4 separate regions of the Homo sapiens genome follow, and regions 2, 3 and 4 are each linked to region 1. Evidence: promoter capture Hi-C in human tissues and cell types (Jung and others, 2019). All regions are on one chromosome and are shown on one strand. Each heading gives the region's core, a stretch centred on a gene start or on the middle of the fragment in contact. The rest is flanking DNA. Distances are from core to core; before and after follow the strand shown.

The links. The method cuts DNA at HindIII sites, captures the fragments that hold promoters and counts their contacts. A contact is called where the count stands out against the background at its distance.
Region 2: a fragment that was not itself captured here is called in contact with the fragment with the promoter of ZNF347 in region 1 in 1 of the 25 tissues and cell types used here (pancreas).
Region 3: a fragment that was not itself captured here is called in contact with the fragment with the promoter of ZNF347 in region 1 in 7 of the 25 tissues and cell types used here (aorta, bladder, dorsolateral prefrontal cortex and 4 more).
Region 4: a fragment that was not itself captured here is called in contact with the fragment with the promoter of ZNF347 in region 1 in 1 of the 25 tissues and cell types used here (adrenal gland).

The regions. Positions count from the first base shown.
Region 1 is chr19:53,157,718-53,160,481 of GRCh38, forward strand. ZNF347 (zinc finger protein 347) reads right to left here and starts at 1,336. Exons shown (of 5, transcript NM_032584.3): 1 at 1,292-1,336. RefSeq lists an enhancer at 1,239-1,533 and a silencer at 1,269-1,518. The HindIII fragment of the contact is 7,458 bases long and covers 1-2,764 here.
Region 2 is chr19:53,004,436-53,007,345 of GRCh38, forward strand. It overlaps LOC124904758 (a long non-coding RNA gene), which reads right to left. Exons shown (of 2, transcript XR_007067327.1): 2 at 2,125-2,910. It also overlaps the pseudogene ARPC1AP2. Among named protein-coding and RNA genes, the nearest start is that of ERVV-1, 8.0 kb to the right of the region's middle. The HindIII fragment of the contact is 4,230 bases long and covers 1-2,910 here.
Region 3 is chr19:53,408,595-53,411,644 of GRCh38, forward strand. The region is part of intron 3 of ZNF765-ZNF761 (ZNF765-ZNF761 readthrough); the gene reads left to right. It overlaps ZNF765 (zinc finger protein 765), which reads left to right. Exons shown (of 4, transcript NM_001040185.3): 4 at 1-3,050. The coding sequence ends at 533. It also overlaps the pseudogene LOC124904793. Among named protein-coding and RNA genes, the nearest start is that of ZNF765-ZNF761, 15 kb to the left of the region's middle. The HindIII fragment of the contact is 3,821 bases long and covers 1-3,050 here.
Region 4 is chr19:52,974,281-52,977,129 of GRCh38, forward strand. It overlaps the pseudogene ZNF702P. Among named protein-coding and RNA genes, the nearest start is that of ZNF816-ZNF321P, 13 kb to the left of the region's middle. The HindIII fragment of the contact is 7,849 bases long and covers 1-2,849 here.

The sequences.
Region 1 (2,764 bases), core at 86-2,585:
CTGCTCTCCTCGTCACCGGCTGTCCCCTCTTGCTGTCCCAGCACCACGCTGCTTGTCTGCCCTGGCTCCAAATCCCTCCTCCTCTCCCGGACTCTGTCTGAGGAGCCTCCCACTTTCTGGCCCTCTCCCTACCTTGCTGTCCTTCATGTCTCTGGACATCGAGCTTTTCTCTACATTTCCCCAGTTGCTTTTCTCCTTCTGCCTTCTCAGCTCCTTCTCTTACCATCTGCAAATCCCTCGCCCATCCTCTACTTTGCCATCTGGTTACGGGTTTCCCTCACTCTTTCCTCTCAGTTTTTCTACTTCTCTCTCTGTCTCTGCCCCTTTCTCTACCTGCTAATCCCCTTGGTCCACACATTCACAGGAAGGTTTGGACTAAGACGCCTGCATCTTGGAGGAGCGCATTTTCCAGGGGCTGGAGCTGGGCAGGCAAGAACACCGGGTGTCACAGGACAGGCCCCGGGCACCTCCCCAGCGCGGGCTCAGGAGAAGCGGGGACTGCGAAGGGGAGGCCTGGGGAGCAGCAGGGCCCGGCACGAGGAGGAGGGAGGTGGCGGGGCGACGGCGCCTTAGAAGAGGGGTGGGGTCTGCAGGATGCCAGGACCAGGCAGAGGACGCGGCCTCGCCGGTACCGGGGCTGAGGAGCTGCGCTCCAGGGGCCGACGAGGGCGAGGCTGGGAGGCACCCAGGGCGGGAATCCACCTCGCGGGCGAGGACTTTAAAAAGCCCGGGGCGGGAGGAGGGGTCAGGAAAGGGTTTTAAGCGGGAGGAAGACGCGAAAGGCCGGGGACAGGGAGAAGCCTCAGAGCTACTTCAACCCAAAGAGAAGCGACTCCGAACCCACACCGCGAGTCAGCTGGGGTGGAGGGCGCGGTGCGGGGATCTTAAGGTCTGTAGCTGCCGGGCGCAGTGGCTCACGCTTGTAACCCCAGCACTTTGGGAGGCCGAGGCGGGCGGATTACCTGAGGTCAGGAGTTCGAGATCAGCCTGGGCAACACGGTGAAACCCCGTCTCTACTAAAAATACAAAATTAGCCGGGCGTGGTGGCACATGCCTGTAATCCCAGCTACTCGGGAGGCTGAGGCAGGAGAATCGCTTGAACCTGGGAGGCGGAGGATGCGGTGAGCCGAAATCGCGCCATTGCACTCCAGCCTGGACAACAAGAGTAAATCTCCGTCTCACCAAAAAAAAAAAAAAAGAAAAAAAAAAAGGTCTGTAGCGAGCCCGGGAACTGGCTGCGGAAACGGGGCACGGCGGTTCGCAAGTTTAATCCATACTGAGGGACACTCACGCTCGGCGGCGTCACCCGCACCCAACACGATCCGCTTCCGGAACTGCAGAAAACTGCGCGTGCGCGGAAAAGAGCCCGGGCACTCTGGGGGCGGGGCCTGGGGAGAGGCGGGGTCTGCGGACGAAACGCTGGGGCGGAGCTGGGGCGGGGTCTGCGCTTCCCTCAGCCTGCCTAGCCCGCAGTCTCATTTTTCCCGGTTTAGAAACGCTGGAGTGTTCACTATGTCCCCGGGAGCACCGTTCCAATTTGAAGCAGTTTTAAGGTGAAAGAATAGACTTACGTGGACCACTTATGATAGAAACCAAAATGATTTCCTCTTACCAAGTTGAAAACGGTTTATGTTAAAATTGTTTGCCGGCGGGTTGGACCCAGTCCTGCTAGGGAGTCTGCTGCAGCTCAGGAACGGGGATCTGGGAATCGGGGATCTCGGTCTGGGAACTGGGATCTTAGTGGAGGATCCACGAGGCACGGCGATTGGATCCAGCAATTCCTGCAATTAAAATGTATTTAATTTAACTAAAATGTCTGGAAATTATCTCTGAGGATGATTCAAAGTAGAATGGGAAATGCAGCATCCTACCTGGACGGATATGCAATTTAATGCAGTAGCCCAACAGAACCTCCTTTACATTTCAAATCCCCATTCTCCCCAGTGGAAGAGTCAAGCCTGTGCTCAATTCATGGGAAGGTTAAGGCCGATAAGTTAGATCACCAAGGGCTGCTTTATTGTTCTTTAAAACATATATTTTTGTAAAGATGGGAGTCTCGGCCCAGGCTGGTCTCCAACTCTTGACCTCAAGCAATCCTCCTGCCTGGGCCTCCAAAATTGCTGGGATTACAGGAGTGAACTACTGTGCCCAGTCAACTACTGATTTAAACCATGTGAATTTTTAAAAAATAGAGATAAACTGCATTATTTTTGCTTATATTCGTTATTCCGTTCCACACTTGAAATGACTTAACCACAAACAACTTTGACATAATCTTTCTTTGCATCAAAATATGCTTAAATCAATAATTTCTAAATATCATGTAATTTCAAATTCACTTTATGGGCATTCTGAAGGGAACTTGACACAGTACTTTTTATTTTAAAATTGTAATCTATATTGGGTCTATTTTTTTGTTTTCTGTTTCTTAATGTTCTATCAGATGTGGATAACAGAGTGTGGAAAATAGTCACCACATGACAATTGGATTTATTTTCGCCTAAAGAATAGTTTTCCAGTATTTCTAACGTACCATCCCAGTACATTGACTGAACTAAAGACTCACAGGGATACCCTTTTTTCATGTTTATAGAGAACCTAGTTTATACCTGCTATTGTCTTATGTACATTTTCATGTCACACAATTTTATCTCCAAACAACACCCTTATTTATATACACCGTATAGTTTTCACTTTAACAAAATATTAAACGTTTCATCTGGGTTACAATATATGAAAGAAAAAAATAAAAGGGAAAATCATA
Region 2 (2,910 bases), core at 121-2,620, 150 kb before region 1:
AAGCAAGCATATTAAAAAGCCGATTCGCTCCACAGTCCTCAGCTTGGATTGGCATCCCAACAATGTTTTGCTGGCAGCAGGATCATGTGACTTCAAATGCAGAGTGTTTTCTGCTTACATTAAAGAAGTGGATGAAAAGCCAGCCAGCATGCCCTGGGGCACCAAGATGCCTTTTGGGCAGCTGATGTCAGAGTTTGGTGGCAGTGGCACCGGTGGCTGGGTCCACGGGGTAAGCTTCTCTGCCAGTGGGAGCCGCCTGGCCTGGGTCAGCCACGACAGCACCGTTATCTGTTGCTGATGCCTCAAAAAGTGTGCAGGTCTCAATTCTGAAGACAGAGTTCCTACCACTCCTGAGTGTGTCATTTGTCTCAGAGAACAGTGTCGTGGCTGCTGGCCATGACTGCTACCCAATGCTCTTTAATTATGATGACCGCGGCTGCCTGACCTTCGTCTCCAAGTTAGACATTCCAAAACAGAGCATCCAACGCAACATGTCTGCCATAGAACACTTCCGCAACATGGACACGAGGGCCACGATTGAGGACCACAACATGGCCTTGGAGAGGCTGCACCAGAATAGCATCACTCACGTCTCTATTTATGAGGTAGACAAGCAAGGTTGTCGCAAATTTTGCACTACTGGCATTGATGGAGCCATGACAATTTGGGATTTCAAGACCCTCGAGTCTTCCATCCAGGTCCTCCACATAATGTGAAGCTGAGTGAGCCTTCGCCATCTAGCATGACAAACTGTGGCCAACCGCAGCTGTGCCGTGGCACGATGGCGAGGAAGCTAGACCCAAGGAAACACTGAAAACACATAGCAGGCCAATGCTGTGTGGTTTTGTTTGAATATAAAATTGGTGAAAATGCTGGTTTTTTTAAAGCAGTATTTTTTTTTTTATTTTTTTATTTTTTTTGCGATTTCATTCCATTCTTGACCAAAGCTTCCCTTTAAGTAGTTTATTATGGAAAATTGTCACACTAACTTAAAAGACAGGGTGAGGGAGATATGTAAATTGTCCACTAGAAAATTAAATAAAAGAACTAAATGTGGGAAAAAAAAAAAGAAAGAAAGAAAATACAAGCACTTAGGTCGGGTGCAGTGGCTTACGCCTGTAATCCCAGCACTTTGGGAGGCTAAGGCGGGTGGATCACCTGAGGTGGGGAGTTTGAGACCAGCCTGACCAACATGGAGAAACCCCATCTCTACTAAAAATACAAAATTAGCCAAGCACAGTGGTGCATGCCTGTAATCCCAGTTACTCGGGAGGTTGAGGCAGAAGAATCGCTTGAACCCAGGAGGTGGAGGTTGCAGTGAGCCGAGATGGCGCCACTGCATGCCAGCTTGGGCAACGAAAGCGGAAAAAAGAGGCCGGGCATGGTGGCTCACACCTTTGGGAGCACTTTGGGAGGCTGAGGTGGGTAAATCACCTGAGGTCCGGAGTTTGAGACCAGCCTGGCCAACATGGTGAAACCCATCTCTACTAAAAATTAAAAAAAAAATTATCTGGGCATGCTGGCGGGCGCCCATAATCCCAGCTACTTGGGAGGCTAAGGCAGGAGAATCCCTTGAACCTGGGAGGCAGAGGTTACGGTGTGCCGAGATTGCACCACTACACTCCAGCCTGGGTGACAGAGTGAGACTCCCTCCCCACCGCCCCCCCAAAAAAAAAGAAAAAAGAAAAGAAAATACTAGCACTAATTTATATGTCAGATTCATGTCACATCTCAAATTCATCTAAATTTTCTTGACATCCCTTTTTATACCAGTGGAGCCCTGATGAAGACACTTAATAGAAGTTTTCTCTCTATCAGAGAAATAAGTTGATGAGAATAAACTCAACGAAGGTGAAAATTCTGTTTTTTTCTGTGACCTGGGGGAAAAAGCTTAAGGTGAATTTACATTCAGATTGGTTATACAGAGAGAACATACAGAAGTGGATGAACTCGGTGTAATTAAGTTTTTCTATCCACAAACCAGGTGAAAGTATTGCAGGAGGCAGATAGCGAGGCATGAGCAGGTAAGGAGATTCTGTGTCACCCGCAAGGGGTCCTGATCCAGAACCTAAGAGAGGGTTCTTGGATCTCACGCAAGGAAGAATTCAAGGTGAATCCATACAGTAAAGTGAAAGCAAGTTTATTAAGAGAGTAAAGGAATAAAGTATGGCTACTCCATAGTCAGAGCAGCCTCCTGTTTCATCCTATGACTAAGAATGCCTTCACTTACTGGGAATGTAACCCAGCAGGTCTCAGGCTTATTTTCTCCAGCCCCTATTCCAGATGGAATTGCTCTGGTTCAAATGTCTCTGACACTTTGGAAAGGAATATTTAGAAATGCAACTCACTGGCCAGGCACAGTGGCTCATGCCTGTAATCCCAGCACTTTGGGAGGCCGAGACAGGTGGATCACGAGGTCAGGAGATCAAGACCATCCTGGCTAACACAGTGAAACTCCATCTCTACTAAAAATACAAAAACTTAGCTGGCCTGGTGGTGGGCGCATGTAGTCCCAGCTACTCAGGAGGCTGAGGCAGGAGAATGGCGTGAACCCGGGAGGCGGAGCTTGCAATGAGCCGAGATCGGGCCACTGCACTCCAGCCTGGGTGACAGAGCGAGACTCTGTCTCAAAAAAAAAAAAAAAAGAAAAGAAAAAAGAAAAAAGAAATGCAACTCACTGAGAGTCTCCTTAAAGATGCTGCCCACTGACAGCAAGAAAAGATCAGTGGCTACATTGCCTCCACCTGGCCTTGTGGCTGCACTCCTCTGGCCCAGAAGGGGACTTATCAGGGGCTAGCTGGACATAATCGAGATGGGGGATTTTCCCCATTAACAACCATGTGTACTTCTGCAATAACCCACCCTAGAAGAGCCTTCTGCTCAAAATGATACTGAAACACACATCCCTGG
Region 3 (3,050 bases), core at 551-3,050, 250 kb after region 1:
GGCTTCATACTGGAGAGAAACCTTACAAGTGTAATGAGTGTGGCAAGACCTTTAGTCGGAAGTCACATTTTACATGCCATCATAGAGTTCATACTGGAGAGAAACCTTACAAGTGTAATGAGTGTAGCAAGACCTTTAGTCACAAGTCATCTCTTACATACCATCGTAGACTTCATACTGAAGAGAAACCTTACAAGTGTAATGAGTGTGGCAAGACCTTCAATCAGCAGTTAACCCTTAACATTTGTAGACTTCATAGTGGAGAGAAACCTTACAAATGTGAAGAATGTGACAAAGCCTACAGTTTCAAATCAAACCTTGAAATACATCAGAAAATTCATACTGAAGAGAATCCTTACAAGTGTAATGAGTGTGGCAAGACCTTCAGCCGGACGTCATCCCTTACATACCATCATAGACTTCATACTGGACAGAAACCTTACAAATGTGAAGATTGTGATGAAGCTTTCAGTTTCAAATCAAACCTTGAAAGACATAGGAGAATTTATACTGGAGAGAAACTACACGTGTAATGAGTGTGGTAAGACCTTCAATCAGGAGTTAACCCTTACATGCCATCGTAGGCTTCATAGTGGAGAGAAACCTTACAAATATGAAGAACTTGACAAAGCTTACAATTTCAAATCAAACCTTGAAATACATCAGAAAATTCGTACTGAAGAGAATCTTACAAGTGTAATGAGTGTGGCAAGACCTTGAGTCATACGTCATCTTTTGTGTACCATCATAAACTTCATAGTGGAGAGACCTTACAAATGTGAAGAATGTGAAGAAGCTTTCTGTTTCAAATCCAACCTTGAAAGACATAGGAGAATTCACACTGGTGAGAAACCTTACAGGTGTAATGAGTGTGGCAAGACCTTCAGCCAGACCTCATCCCTTACATGCCATTGTAGACTTCGTACTGGAGAGAAACCTTACAAATGTGAAGAATTTGAGTTTTCCATTTCAAATCAAACCTTGAAAGACAAAGGAGAATTCATACTGGAGAGAAACCATACAAGTGTAATGAGTGTGGCAAGACCTTTAGTCAGAACTCATACCTTACACGCCATCGTAGACTTCATACTGGAGGATACCTTACAAATGTAATGAGTGTGGCAAGACCTTTAGTCAGAACTCATACCTTACATGCCATCATAGACTTCATACTGGAGAGATACCTTAAAAGTGTAGTGAGTGTGGCAAGACCTTTAGTCTGAAGTCATACCTTACGCACCATCGTAGACTTCATACTGGAGAGGTACCTTACAAGGATAATGAGTGTAGAAAAACCTTTCATGGGCAGTCAGCATTTTACAAATGTAATGATTGTCACCAAGTCTTGAGTAATGCTACAACTATTGCAAATCATTGGAGAATCCATAATGAAGAGAGATCCTACAAGTGTGATAAATGCAGAATAAATGCAGAAAATTTTTCAGACATCCTTCATACCTTTGCAGTTCATGGGTGAAGTCGTATTAGAAACCTTACAAATGTGAAGAATGTGATGAAGCTTTCAGATTCAAATCAAACCTTGATAGTCATAGAATTCATACTAGAGAGAAACCTTAGCAGTGTAATGAACGTGGCAAGGTTTTAAATCAAAAAGCAAAGCTTGCACATCATCATAGAATTCATACTGGAGATAAACGTTACAAATGTGAAGCATGTGACAAAGTTTACAGTCGCAAATCAAGCCTCCAAAGACAGGAGAATTCATACTGGAGAGAAAGCTTACATATGTGAAGAATGTCACCAAGTTTTCAGTCACACTCAAACCTTGAAAGACACAGGAGAATTCCTACTGGAGAGATAGCATAAAAATGTAAGAGTTTGTGACAAGGCTTTCAGGCATAATTCGCACCTGGCACAACATCCTAGAATTCACATTGGAGAGAAAGCTTACAAGTATAATGAATGTGACAGGTCTTTAGTGGGCAGTCAACACTTGTTTACCATCAGGCAATCCATGGTGTAGGGAAACTTTACTTATGTAATGATTGTCACAAAGTCTTCAGTTACACTACAACCATTGCGAATCATTGGAGAATCCATAATGAAGAGAGATCATACTAGTTTAATAAATTTGGCAAATTTTTCAGACATTGTTCATAACTTGCAGTTCATCGGCGAACTCGTACTGGAGAGAAACCTTACAAATGTCATGATTGTGACAAGGTCTCAGTCAAGCTTCATTCTATGCAAAACATAGGAGAATTCATACAGGAGAGAAACCTCACAAGTGTGATGATTGCGGCAAAGCCTTTAATTCACATTCACACCTCACTAGACATCAGAGAATGCATACTGGACAGAAATCTTATAAATGTCATCAGTGTGCCAAAGTCTTCAGTCTGAGCTCACTCCTTGCAGGATATCAGAAAATTCATTTTGGAGATAGTTGTTCCAAATACAATGTGTATAGCAAACCATCAAGCATTAATTGACACTAGAGTCAGTTCAGCATTGACTTGAGTTTGACTTAACATTGAGTTGAAGCCTTAATTGACATTAAAGTGTTTATGTTAAGAGGACTGGGCCAGGCACAGTGGCTCACACCTGTAATCTGAGCGCTTTGGGAGGCCAGCACCGGTAGATCACTTGAGTTCAGGAGTTTGAGGTCAGCCTGGCCAACAGACGTGAGCCATTTTCCCAGCCTGTTTTTTGTTTCTTTAACAAAAACTGATAGGGATTTTTTTTTTTTTTTTTGAGATGGAGTTTCACTCTTGTTGCCCAGGCTGGACTGCAATGGAGCGATCCCAGCTCACTACAACCTCCGCCTCCCAGGTTCAAGCAATTCTCCTGCCTCAGCCTCCAGAGTAGCTAGGATTACAGGCATGAGCCACCACGCCCAGCTAATTTTGTATTTTTAGTAGAGATGGGGTTTCTCCATGTTGGTTAGGCTGGTCTTGAACTCCCAGCCTCAGATGATCCACCCACCTCGGCCTCCCAAAGTGCTGGGATTACAGGCGTGAGCCACTGCGCCCAGCCCCAGTGATAAGGATTTTTATGGGTACCGTGTTGAATCTAAATCACATTGGGTT
Region 4 (2,849 bases), core at 178-2,677, 180 kb before region 1:
TGCAGTGGTGCAGCTTATAGCTTGCAGTGAACGCCAAGAATGAAGTACTCAGATAATTCCAGCTGAGTGGGGCGGGGAGCAAACCTTCTGAGAGAGTGCTGCCCCAGAATCCGTCCTCCAAGTATTTATTGAAAGGGCTTGTTTAGACCGGTCGCGGTGGCTCACGCCTGTAATCCCAGCACTTTGGGAGGCCGAGGCGGGCGGATCACGAGGTCAGGAGATCGAGACCATCCTGGATAACACAGTGAGACCCCGTCTCTACTAAAAATACAAAAAAATTAGCCGGGCGTGGTGGCGGGCGCCTGAAGTCACAGCTACTCAGGAGGCTGAGGCAGGAGAATGGTGTGAACCCGGGAGGCAGAGCTTGCAGTGAGCCGAGATCGCACCACTGCACTCCAGCCTGGGCGACAGAGCGAGACTCCGTCTCAAAAAAAAAAAAAAAAAAAAAAGGGCTTGTTTAAACTACACTTCAGACAAACAAAAAACATACACCATGGAGCTCTTTGCAGTCGGGTCGTGAGGCACTATGGCCTTGTAAAAGCACTCAGACCACATTCACAGGAGACTGTTTCAGCGTTTCTTATCACACATTCTACTCCTTGTCCTGATTTCAGGGTCAAGGAGTGACAGTCTCATACACAAACAACATACACACAGTGCCTCAGTAATTTTCCATTCCTCAATCTCAAATGCCTTGTACATAAGCTTATGTTGCCGCGCATCCATCAAAGTTGGTTCACACCCGTAATCTCAGCACTTTGGCAGGCCAAGGCAGGTGGATCACCTGAGTTTGGGAGTTCGAGACCAGCTTGACCAACAAGGAGAAACCTTGTTTCTACTAAAAATACAAAATTAGCCGGGCATGATGGTGCATGCCTGTAATCCCAGCTACTCGGGGGGCTGTGGCAAAAGAATCACTTGAAACTGGGAGGCGGAGGTTGCAGTGAGCTGAGATTGTGTCATTGCACTTCAGCCTGGGCGACAGGAGCAAAACTTTGTCTCAGAAATAAATAAATAAATAAATAAATAAATAAGTAAGTAAATAGACAGATACAGAAACCTGTATAAGTGTATCTTTTCTTTATAACTCAACTTTTTTTTCCAATTATTTAGCAGAAAAAAGCACAAAAAAAACACTGTACATATATGTTAATGAAAATGCAACATATACAGAAATAATTCTGACATAAATAACAAAGAGTTCTAGTGGAGAAAGTAGTCTTTGCAGGTTATGGAAATTTTTGTTTGTTTCTTTCTTTGTTTTTTTGAGACGGAGTCTTGCTCTGTCGCCCAGGCTGGAGTGTAATGGTGCCGTTTCGGCTCCTGCAATCTTTGCCTCTTGAATTCAAAGATTTCAGCCTCTTGAGTAGCTGGGATTACAGGTGCCCACTGCACTTCGAATTTTCAGTAGAGACAGAGTTTTGCCATGTTAGCCAGGCTGGTGTTGAACTCCTGACTTCAGGTGATTTGCCCACCTTGGCCTCCCAATGTGCTGAGATTACAGGGGTGAGCCACTGCACCTGGCCAGGTAATGGAAATTTCAAGTTTTGTTATTATGCTATAACTTCAAGATGTTTAACACACCTTCAACAATAACCTCCCCCTAAATATCTATACAACACACTTCGGTTCTTCATATTGAAAGGAATGGACACTAACGTGGTTGTTATGTTCACATTGGAATCATGCTTAAGCCACTTATATGTTTACTAAAAACTAAAAGACAAAACTATTTAAAATAATAATAATGGCTGGGCACGGTGGCTCACGCCTGTAATGCCAGTACTTTGGGAAACCGAGACAGGTGGATCACTTGAGATCAGGAGTTCGAGAACATCCTGGCTAATGTGATGAAACCCCGTCTCTACTAAAAACACAAAAATTAGCTGGGCGTGGTGGTGAGCGCCTGTAGTCACAGCTACTCAGAAGCTGGGACACAAGAATCGTTTGAGCCCGGGAGGTGGAGGCTACGGTTAGAAAGATCGCACCACTGCACTGTAGCCCGAGTGACAGAGTGAGACTTCACCACAAAAAAAAGTAAATAAGAAGAGAGTCAAAGCATGTCTACAGAAAAAAAGTAATTAAACACAAAAAGTAGGAAATGAGAAATGAAGAACAACAATAAAAACCTACAAGAAATACAGATAATATGTAACAAAAACGCAACGGTAAGGTCTTCTCCATCAGTAATTATTAAAATGTAAATATTTAACTCTGCATTCAGGAGGCAAAGACTGGCTGAATCAACAGGAACCAACTACATGTTGTCCACAGAAGACTCATATTAGCCCTAAGGACACACATACGCTAAAATTTAAAAAATAAAAACCAATAATTAGGTATGGGGGTTGGGGCCTATAATCCCAGCTACTCAGGAGGCCAAAGAGGACCTCTTGAGCCCAGGAGATCAAGACCAACTTCAACAACACAGCATAAAACTGAAAAATAACCTGGAGAAAGCAGGGAAGGATAGTCTGCTGGTTTACCATTTTGATCCCTGGTACAGACAGCTCCTCTATTTGTGCCCCCTGGCTTATAGCACAGGCTCCATAGCTACTGAGTCAGTGAATGAATGAGAATGACTGAGTGATACTAGTATGTCTTCTCTGGGGTCTCATGTGTGCCAGGGTCCTATTTGACCTTGGAATGGTCTTCATCGTGATGAGGGAGCTGAGCAGGAGCAGCTGAGCGGGACAGCCCAGAGTCCCTCATGCAGACCACTCTGCTTGCCCAACCGGTAAGAAGGACAAGTGTATGTTCACTCAGAAACACATCTGGCTGATCCAACGGGTCACTGCCTGACCCTGAGCAAACTTACATTGGCAATTAAAGACCCTAAACTCCGCAGA